Regions from separate parts of the Homo sapiens genome. Here region 2 is linked to region 1. The links are contacts of gene promoters, found by promoter capture Hi-C in blood cells and fetal thymus (Javierre and others, 2016). All regions are on one chromosome and are shown on one strand. Each heading gives the region's core, a stretch centred on a gene start or on the middle of the fragment in contact. The rest is flanking DNA. Distances are from core to core; before and after follow the strand shown.

Region 1 (3,674 bases), core at 523-3,022:
TATAGCCAACCCTATACTTGGTATACATAATGAGTTCAACAACAATTTACTTTTGAACAGAATATATGAACTCTGAGGGAAGACTCCTATTAATCTGTGCCTTTTTTCCATTAATTTTTATTCTATTTTTTCTACTGTAAAAACAAAAATAATGCTTATTAAAGAAAATGCAAAGGTTAAACAAAAGGAGAAAAATATCAGCCATATTCCTGCTACCCAGAAATAATCACTGTTAGTACTTTGGTGCATTTTTTATACCAATAGTTTTCTTTTTTCTTTAAACATAGATGTACAGACATCGTATCCTCCATGCAATTTCATATCCTGAATTTTTTTACTTATCATAAAAAAAGCATTTCTCCAACTCCTCATCAGCTCTTTATTTAAGAATTAATGGTGAATTATTCTCTATAGAAAATGTTTACATTGATGTTGAAACTACCTCAAATGCTAACTGCACAATCTCTTTCTGAAGATTTTAGGTAGTTTACTTAACCACTTCCCTTTTGGAACTCTGAGGTTCTATTTTATTTTTCCTATTATAAATAATTCCATAATGAACATCACTGTACTTCATATTATCTCTGATAGGCCTATTTCCGACGATGGCTGTCCCACGTGTGAAATTACCAGTTCAGATGCTACAAATGCATTTATGGCCACTGAGCAAAACTTAAGATCACCAGCCACCTGCTTCTAAACATGGAAACTGGTAGCTTTCCCTTTTACAACAGGACACAAACCCGAAGCTCCTTCTATGCCCTCTAGTACTAACACTTGCTTACCTATCACCTAACACAGCCTCCCCTCTTCCCTGCCCATAAAACGCTGCCCAGCCCTACATAATTACACGACCCTGGGCTGGTCCCATCGCCTTTCGGACCTCATCAGTCCCCATGCTGCGCAGTTGGAGAGTGGCATGACTGAAGTGCTGGACCAGAGCATATCCTACGGCCCCTCCTGGAGGGGAGGTGGTGCCCTGGGCGCCGAAACCAAGCGCAGGGTCTTGGCAGGGCGCAGTCGCTTCGCCGGTAGACCCGGGGACTCAAAGCAATAGAACTACAGCTTGGAGCTCCAGGGAGAGCCCAAGACACCGCAGCCCTTCCCCATCTAGATTCCGAGATTGGCCCCTGGGCCCCACTCCCAGCCTTCACTTCATCTCCCCTGAAGCCCTTTCTCTTGCCCGCGGCTCACCTAGTCCACCCTCCAGACCTCATTCGGACTTCCCATTCTTCCCAGTGGAGGGGTCGCCCAAACCCCTCGGGGTCTCCTTTCCCCCTCTCCTTTTCTTTCCGCGCCGTCCAAGCCAGTCCCACTCTCCACACTCTGGAAGGTATCGGCTACCCCCAATATTGCGACTGCCTTGCAAGATCCCCCCATCACCTCCTCCGCATGTCTTTCCACGTATCTGTATGGGGTTGTCCCTCTGTCTTTCCCGCCATGACTGGCTTTCCGTCCTATTTCACCCACCCTTCCTCCCACGGATCCGCGAGTCCTCTGGCCCTGGCCCTTTCATTTTATTAGTCCGCCCCTCTCCTGATAGCACCTCTATCCTCTTTAGGTCCCCTCATATGCCCCTCCTCCAAGTCTGTCCCTCAGCGTCCCCGTCCGCGTCTCTACTGTCTGTCCCCGAATGTGTTCCTCTGTTCCTGGAGTCTGGCCCTCGGTCCAGCCAGGCCCCTGCTCACCATCCCTCCCCCGGGCCGGAGAGTCTGCAGCCCGGTTCCCGGTTCTCGCTGGGGTAACTCTTTCCTCTTCCACTTTCTCTACTTTGAACCCATCCCAGCAGAGTCCAGGAAGTAGCCTGGCGCCGGAGACTGGCGGCGGCGACGCCCAATGGGACGCGCCAGCGGCGGCGGCAGCCCCGCCCAGAGAGCAAATGAGACCAATGGTCGCGTGAAGGCGGGACTTCCGCTGTCCCGCGAAGGGCGGGGGGAGCGAACTGTTGTGGTGCGGAGCGTTCGGCGGGCGGCGGCCGGGCGGCCCAGGGGCTGCCGCGGGACTCGGGGCGCAGCCGAGTGGCTGCAGGGGTGGAGTGGGCCGGACGAGCCGCGGGGCCCGGGTGCCGCGGGTTCGAGGCCGGGCCCCGCGCGAGGAGGCCGCGCCACCCCGGGGGAGCTGCCCGGCAGCGAGTTTGCCCCGCTGCCGAAAGAAGGCGGGAGCCGGCAGGGGCCTTCGAAACCCCCTGGCAACCCAGGCCCGGAGTCCTTGGGGAGCGGCTGTTTCCTGGGACGCCCTCCCGGACACCCCCGCTGCAGGGTTACGGTTCTGGGCCCCCGGCAGAAGGCTCCTCCGGGTGACCCCCGGCGGGGCCCTGCGAGCCGCGGGAGCCGACCCCGGGGCCTCGAGCCGGGAGGAAGGGGGCTTCCGGAGGCGGAGGGCCGGGGGCCGAGGGAGCCGGGCCTCTCGGACGCGGGGCAGGGCAGCGCCCGGGCTGGAGACGGACTCTGGGACCCTCGGCTGCGGGGGTCTCAGCGACCTGCCCCGCGGCAAGCGCGGCCGCGGAGTGGCCTACCGGGGACCCTCCCCCAGAGGGACCGGCCCGGGGCGGGGAGATGAACGGCTTCAGCACGGAGGAGGACAGCCGCGAAGGGCCCCCCGCCGCCCCAGCTGCCGCCGCCCCGGGCTACGGCCAGAGCTGCTGCCTCATCGAGGACGGCGAGCGCTGCGTCCGGCCCGCGGGCAACGCCTCCTTCAGCAAGAGGGTCCAGAAGAGCATCTCGCAGAAGAAACTCAAGCTGGACATCGACAAGAGCGTGAGTCCGCCCCCGCTCGCGTCTGGGCCCCGGCGCCCCCAGCTCTCCGTCCGCTGCCCTGGGCTCCAGTCGGGACTCCCCGGGCACTCCCCGCCGTGGGCCTCGCCGCCCCGGCTCTGCAGAACTGAGTTGGACTCCGCATTTCAAAGGCCGCTCCAGCGCTGACATGCTCTGACTGTGATTCTACCCAGATCCGGGAGGATGGGGGCGGGGGCTTCAGGACTCCTGCTGCCTGGAAAGATTGGACAGCAGTTTCCAACTTGTTTTATTGGTTTAGACTTTAGAGCAGGGAGAGGTGGGTTAGTTTTGTTGGCCCTTGAAGGAGCAAGAATCGGAGCGGGGAGTGATGAAGATACCCGGCTCTTTTCCAACTTCTCTCTCCTTCTAGGAACCCTGTTATTCCTTCAGACAGAGAAAGGTGGCAGTTACTTCCCTGGCTCCCGCATCCTCGGTATCAGCAGAGGGTCACCGAGCTAGCTGCTTCGCAGGCAGCTGTGGGAATGGGTTTTTCTAGGATGTGGCAGAAATAAGGCCAAGGCCAGGTCTTGAGAAATGGCTCTTGCAGTCGATGTGACTGGAGGGGGGAAGAAAAGAAATCAATTTTCTTAGTGGTAGTTTCTTTTGAAATAAGGGGGTGGATATTTAAATTTAAATCGGATTGCCCTGCTCTTTGTGGCTTATTATAGGAAACTCCTCCCGTGTGACTTCACCACTTCTAGTTAACAATTCTGAAGCTGTGCCTATTGTCAACCAATTAAGAACTTTTTAGTTTGACATCTGTTGCTACAAGCCTTAAGTGATTGCTTCATGATTAGGAATTGGAAATGAGTTAAGGGGATATTTAATATTCAGGTAGACTAGCTAAGAGCTTAGGTGGTTAACATCCATTCTCTTCTAGAATCAGAATTTCTCCACAGT
Region 2 (3,454 bases), core at 7-2,506, about 14 Mb after region 1:
CTGGAGAACATTATGTTGGTGCAATAAGCCGGGCACAGAAAGACAAATACTACATTAGCCCATGTATATGTGTAATCTAAAAAATTCAGATTCATAGAAGCAGAGCATAGAATGGTGGTTGTCAGGGCTTCAGAGGTAGGAAAGATGGGAGATGTTGCTCAAAGTTACAAAGTTTCAGTTAGGCGGGATGAATAGATTCTAGAGATGTAATGTATATTGTATACTTGCAGTTTTCGTTTTCGTTTCGTTTTGTTTGTTTTTAAATAGAGAGAGAAAAGGTCTCACTCTGTCATCCAGGCAGAGTACAGTGGCATGATCATGGCTCACCGCAGCCTCAAATTCTTGGGCTCAAGTGATCCTCCCACCTCAGCCTCCTATATACCAGGGACTACAGGCACATGCCACCATGCCCGGCTATTTTTCCATTTTTTTGTAGAGACGAGGTCTTAGCTGTTTCCCAGGATGAGAATAGATCTTAAATGTTCACAGCACACACGCGCGCGCGCGCGCGCGCACACACACACACACACACACATGCAAATGATAACTGTATGAGATGAAGGTTATGTTAATTATTTTGGTTGTGGTAATCATTTCAGAATGTATACATATATCAAAACATTACGTTGTACATCGTTATGATATACAATCTTTGTCAATTATACCTCAATAAAACTGGAAAAATAAATAAGATTTTAACTCAAATGTCACTTGCTTAGAGATGTCTTCTCTCACCCAAGTCACTCTATCACATTGCCTTCCTAGCAATTAAAACTACCTGAGATTATTGCCTTTTTTGGTCTATTTTCTCTCTCCATTCTAAAATGTGTCTGCCGTGAGAGGGGAGATCGTGTCTGTTTTGTTTTCTTTGTGCCCCCAGAGCCTAGAATACTGTCTGGCATTTTAAAGTACACAATAAATGTTTGTTGAATAAATGAATGGATTTGTTAGTTTTGTGCCCATTTCACAAAGGGGCAAAGTGAGGCCTTTGAGAGCCAGAAGCTCTAGGTCAGTGACTGTCCTAGTCTATCCAAGCACAGAGCAGCTCTGGTTAGTGTCTGCTCAATTCCTCTCCCCTCGCCCAAACGTCCCTGAGTTGCGGCCTCGCTCCTGACCGAAATCCCCGCGGGTTCTCCTCGCAGTGTCTACTGGATCCCGCCAGGAGGCAGCAGAGGCGCCAGCACCCAGTCCGACGGGACAGCGGACCGGAGGGGGTTTCCGCTTCCGGGAGAGGCTGACCGTTTCCGCTTCCGTCCACTTGGCGAGTGAGACGCTGATGGGAGGATGGACGTACTGGTGTCTGAGTGCTCCGCGCGGCTGCTGCAGCAGGTTTGGACGCAGGAGACCGGCGGGAAGGCCTGAAAGAGATGGAGCAGGCTCTGACTCCTGCCCAAGCGGCTTCGGGGGCGGGACAGCTAGGCGAGGACCATCCTGGTCCTCTCAGAGTGGAGCGGCACGGTCCCTGTGGGAACAGGAAGGGTTGAGAGAGGAAGCACCCATCATTTCAAAGCCCGTGTGACTGTGATTTTCAGCGGAATGGAGGGTCCCCACCCTCTCCCAGGCCTCCCCCAAACCAGCGTCTTCGGTGGGCTGGAGCCTGGCATGTTCAGAACAGTTCTCTCCCTACAATCCACCTCCTCTTCTGCATACACACGCGATTTAGGGGATGCGGGGAGATAGACAAGGGGGGAATACATTCAGAGCTCTGGGTCTTGGTTTGCAGCTCAGCCGCAGTTCTTCCCGGGTTACTGAGCGAGAGGATTCCTAATAAGCCCATGGGGTGATTCATTATCAGACCAGCGGAGCTTGCTCTGTGCCCTCAGCATTCGTCGGGAAGGAGCAGCCACACCATATAAAAGTGAAAGCGGCCGGGCGCGGTGGCTCATGCCTGTAATCCCAGCACTTTGGGAGGCCGAGGTGGGCGGATCACGATGTCAGGAGATCGAGACCATCCTGGCTAACACAGTGAAACTCCGTCTCTACTGAAAATACAAAAAAACTTAACCGGCTGTGTTGGGGGGGGTCCCTGTATTCCTAGCTACTCGGGAGGCTGAGGCAGGAGAATGGCGTGAACCCGGGAGGCGGAGCTTGCAGTGAGCAGAGAGCACACCACTGCACCACAGCCTGGGCGACAGAGTGAGACTCCGTCCCCCTACAAAAAAAAAAAGTGAAAGCGGAACAGTTCCATTACCTTTTATGCCCAGGTGGGGAGGGATGGTAGGAAGATAGTTCACAGTACTCTGTCCTGTTACGGCTGTATACTTAATCAGCAGTCACAAAGTACAAGTTAGTCAAGTAAATTGGCAAGCTCTTTACATTTCTGAGCCATTTATTTATCGGTATGTATTTATCTTTGCCTCACTTGGTTGTGATAATCATGAAGGTAATTTCTGAAAAGTGTTTTTAGCTCAGCTCCTGGAACATAATGTATGCTCATTTTTGGCAATTTGGTTTTGGCTGTAGCTATCTCCCAGTAAGTATTCTGAAATTTCAGGTGAGGAACTCCCCCTGAGTTTTGCAGTTTAAGTTGGAAGCTTTATTTCTTTCTGAATTGACATGTCTTTAGTTTTAGATGTTAAACTACAAAGCCTGGTCTGGTCTAGTCTAGGACCTAAGACACTGGAAACAGGAAGAAATGGGAAAATTGTTTAGTCCCAGAAAGGGTGAAAGGCAGACCCTTGAGCTATTTTGAATGTGACAAAGGACATTTGGGTTTTTTAAGAGTCCCAGGTCATAGGATTTGGGAATAAAAGCAGGTTGGTCAACCTGAAACTTAACTACTCTTGCTAAATCAGAGTGTTTATCGAGCCAAAGAAAAGAACTAGGGATATGAGACATGAGGCATATCCCATTATATACTTACTCCGATTCCTGTCTCCCAAAACACATGTATGTGTGGTTAATATATTCTTTTTCTTTTTCTTTTTTTTTGAAACAGAGTCTCGCTCTGTCAAGCAGACTGGAGTGCAGTGGCACGATCTCGACTCACCGCAACCTCAGCCTCTGGGATTCAGGCAATTCTCCTGCCTCAGCCTCCCAAGTAGCTAGGATTACAGGCATGCGCCACCATGCCTAGCTAATTTTTGTATTTTTAGTAGAGACAGCGTTTCGCTATGTTTGCCATGCTGGTCTTGAACTCTTGGCCTCAAGTCATCCACCTGCCTAGGCCTCCCAAAGTGCTGGGATTACAGGCGTGAGCCACCATGCCTGGCCAATATTTTCTTATTAAGGATAATATGCTAACGTCAGCAAAAATCTCAGAGGAGAAAGAAACACAGCTCATCAAAGGGAACATTAATGATTCCCATGGTCTATGCCACGCCTTGGTAGAGAGGGGAAATGTGGAAGTAAGTTTATGGACTGAAAAAAGTGCTTTTTTTCCCACAGGAAGAAGAGATTAAATCTCTGACTGCTGAAATTGACCGGTTGAAAAACTGTGGCTGTTTAGGAGCTT

Evidence for each region. The method cuts DNA at HindIII sites, captures the fragments that hold promoters and counts their contacts. A CHiCAGO score of 5 or more calls a contact.
Region 2: a contact is called between the fragment with the promoter of RARS1 here and the fragment with the promoter of SAP30L-AS1 in region 1, in 5 of 17 cell types (non-activated CD4 T cells, fetal thymus, monocytes and 2 more). The highest score is 11.6, in non-activated CD4 T cells.

The regions. Positions count from the first base shown.
Region 1 is chr5:154,444,050-154,447,723 of GRCh38, forward strand. SAP30L-AS1 (SAP30L and GALNT10 antisense RNA 1) reads right to left here and starts at 1,773. Exons shown (of 3, transcript NR_037897.1): 1 at 1,689-1,773. SAP30L (SAP30 like) reads left to right here and starts at 1,948. Exons shown (of 4, transcript NM_024632.6): 1 at 1,948-2,756. The coding sequence starts at 2,556. RefSeq lists enhancers at 1,572-1,691, 1,745-2,245 and silencers at 1,822-2,351, 2,482-2,591. The HindIII fragment of the contact is 8,481 bases long and covers 1-3,674 here.
Region 2 is chr5:168,485,215-168,488,668 of GRCh38, forward strand. RARS1 (arginyl-tRNA synthetase 1) reads left to right here and starts at 1,257. Exons shown (of 15, transcript NM_002887.4): 1 at 1,257-1,329; 2 at 3,388-3,454. The coding sequence starts at 1,285. The HindIII fragment of the contact is 3,317 bases long and covers 1-2,532 here.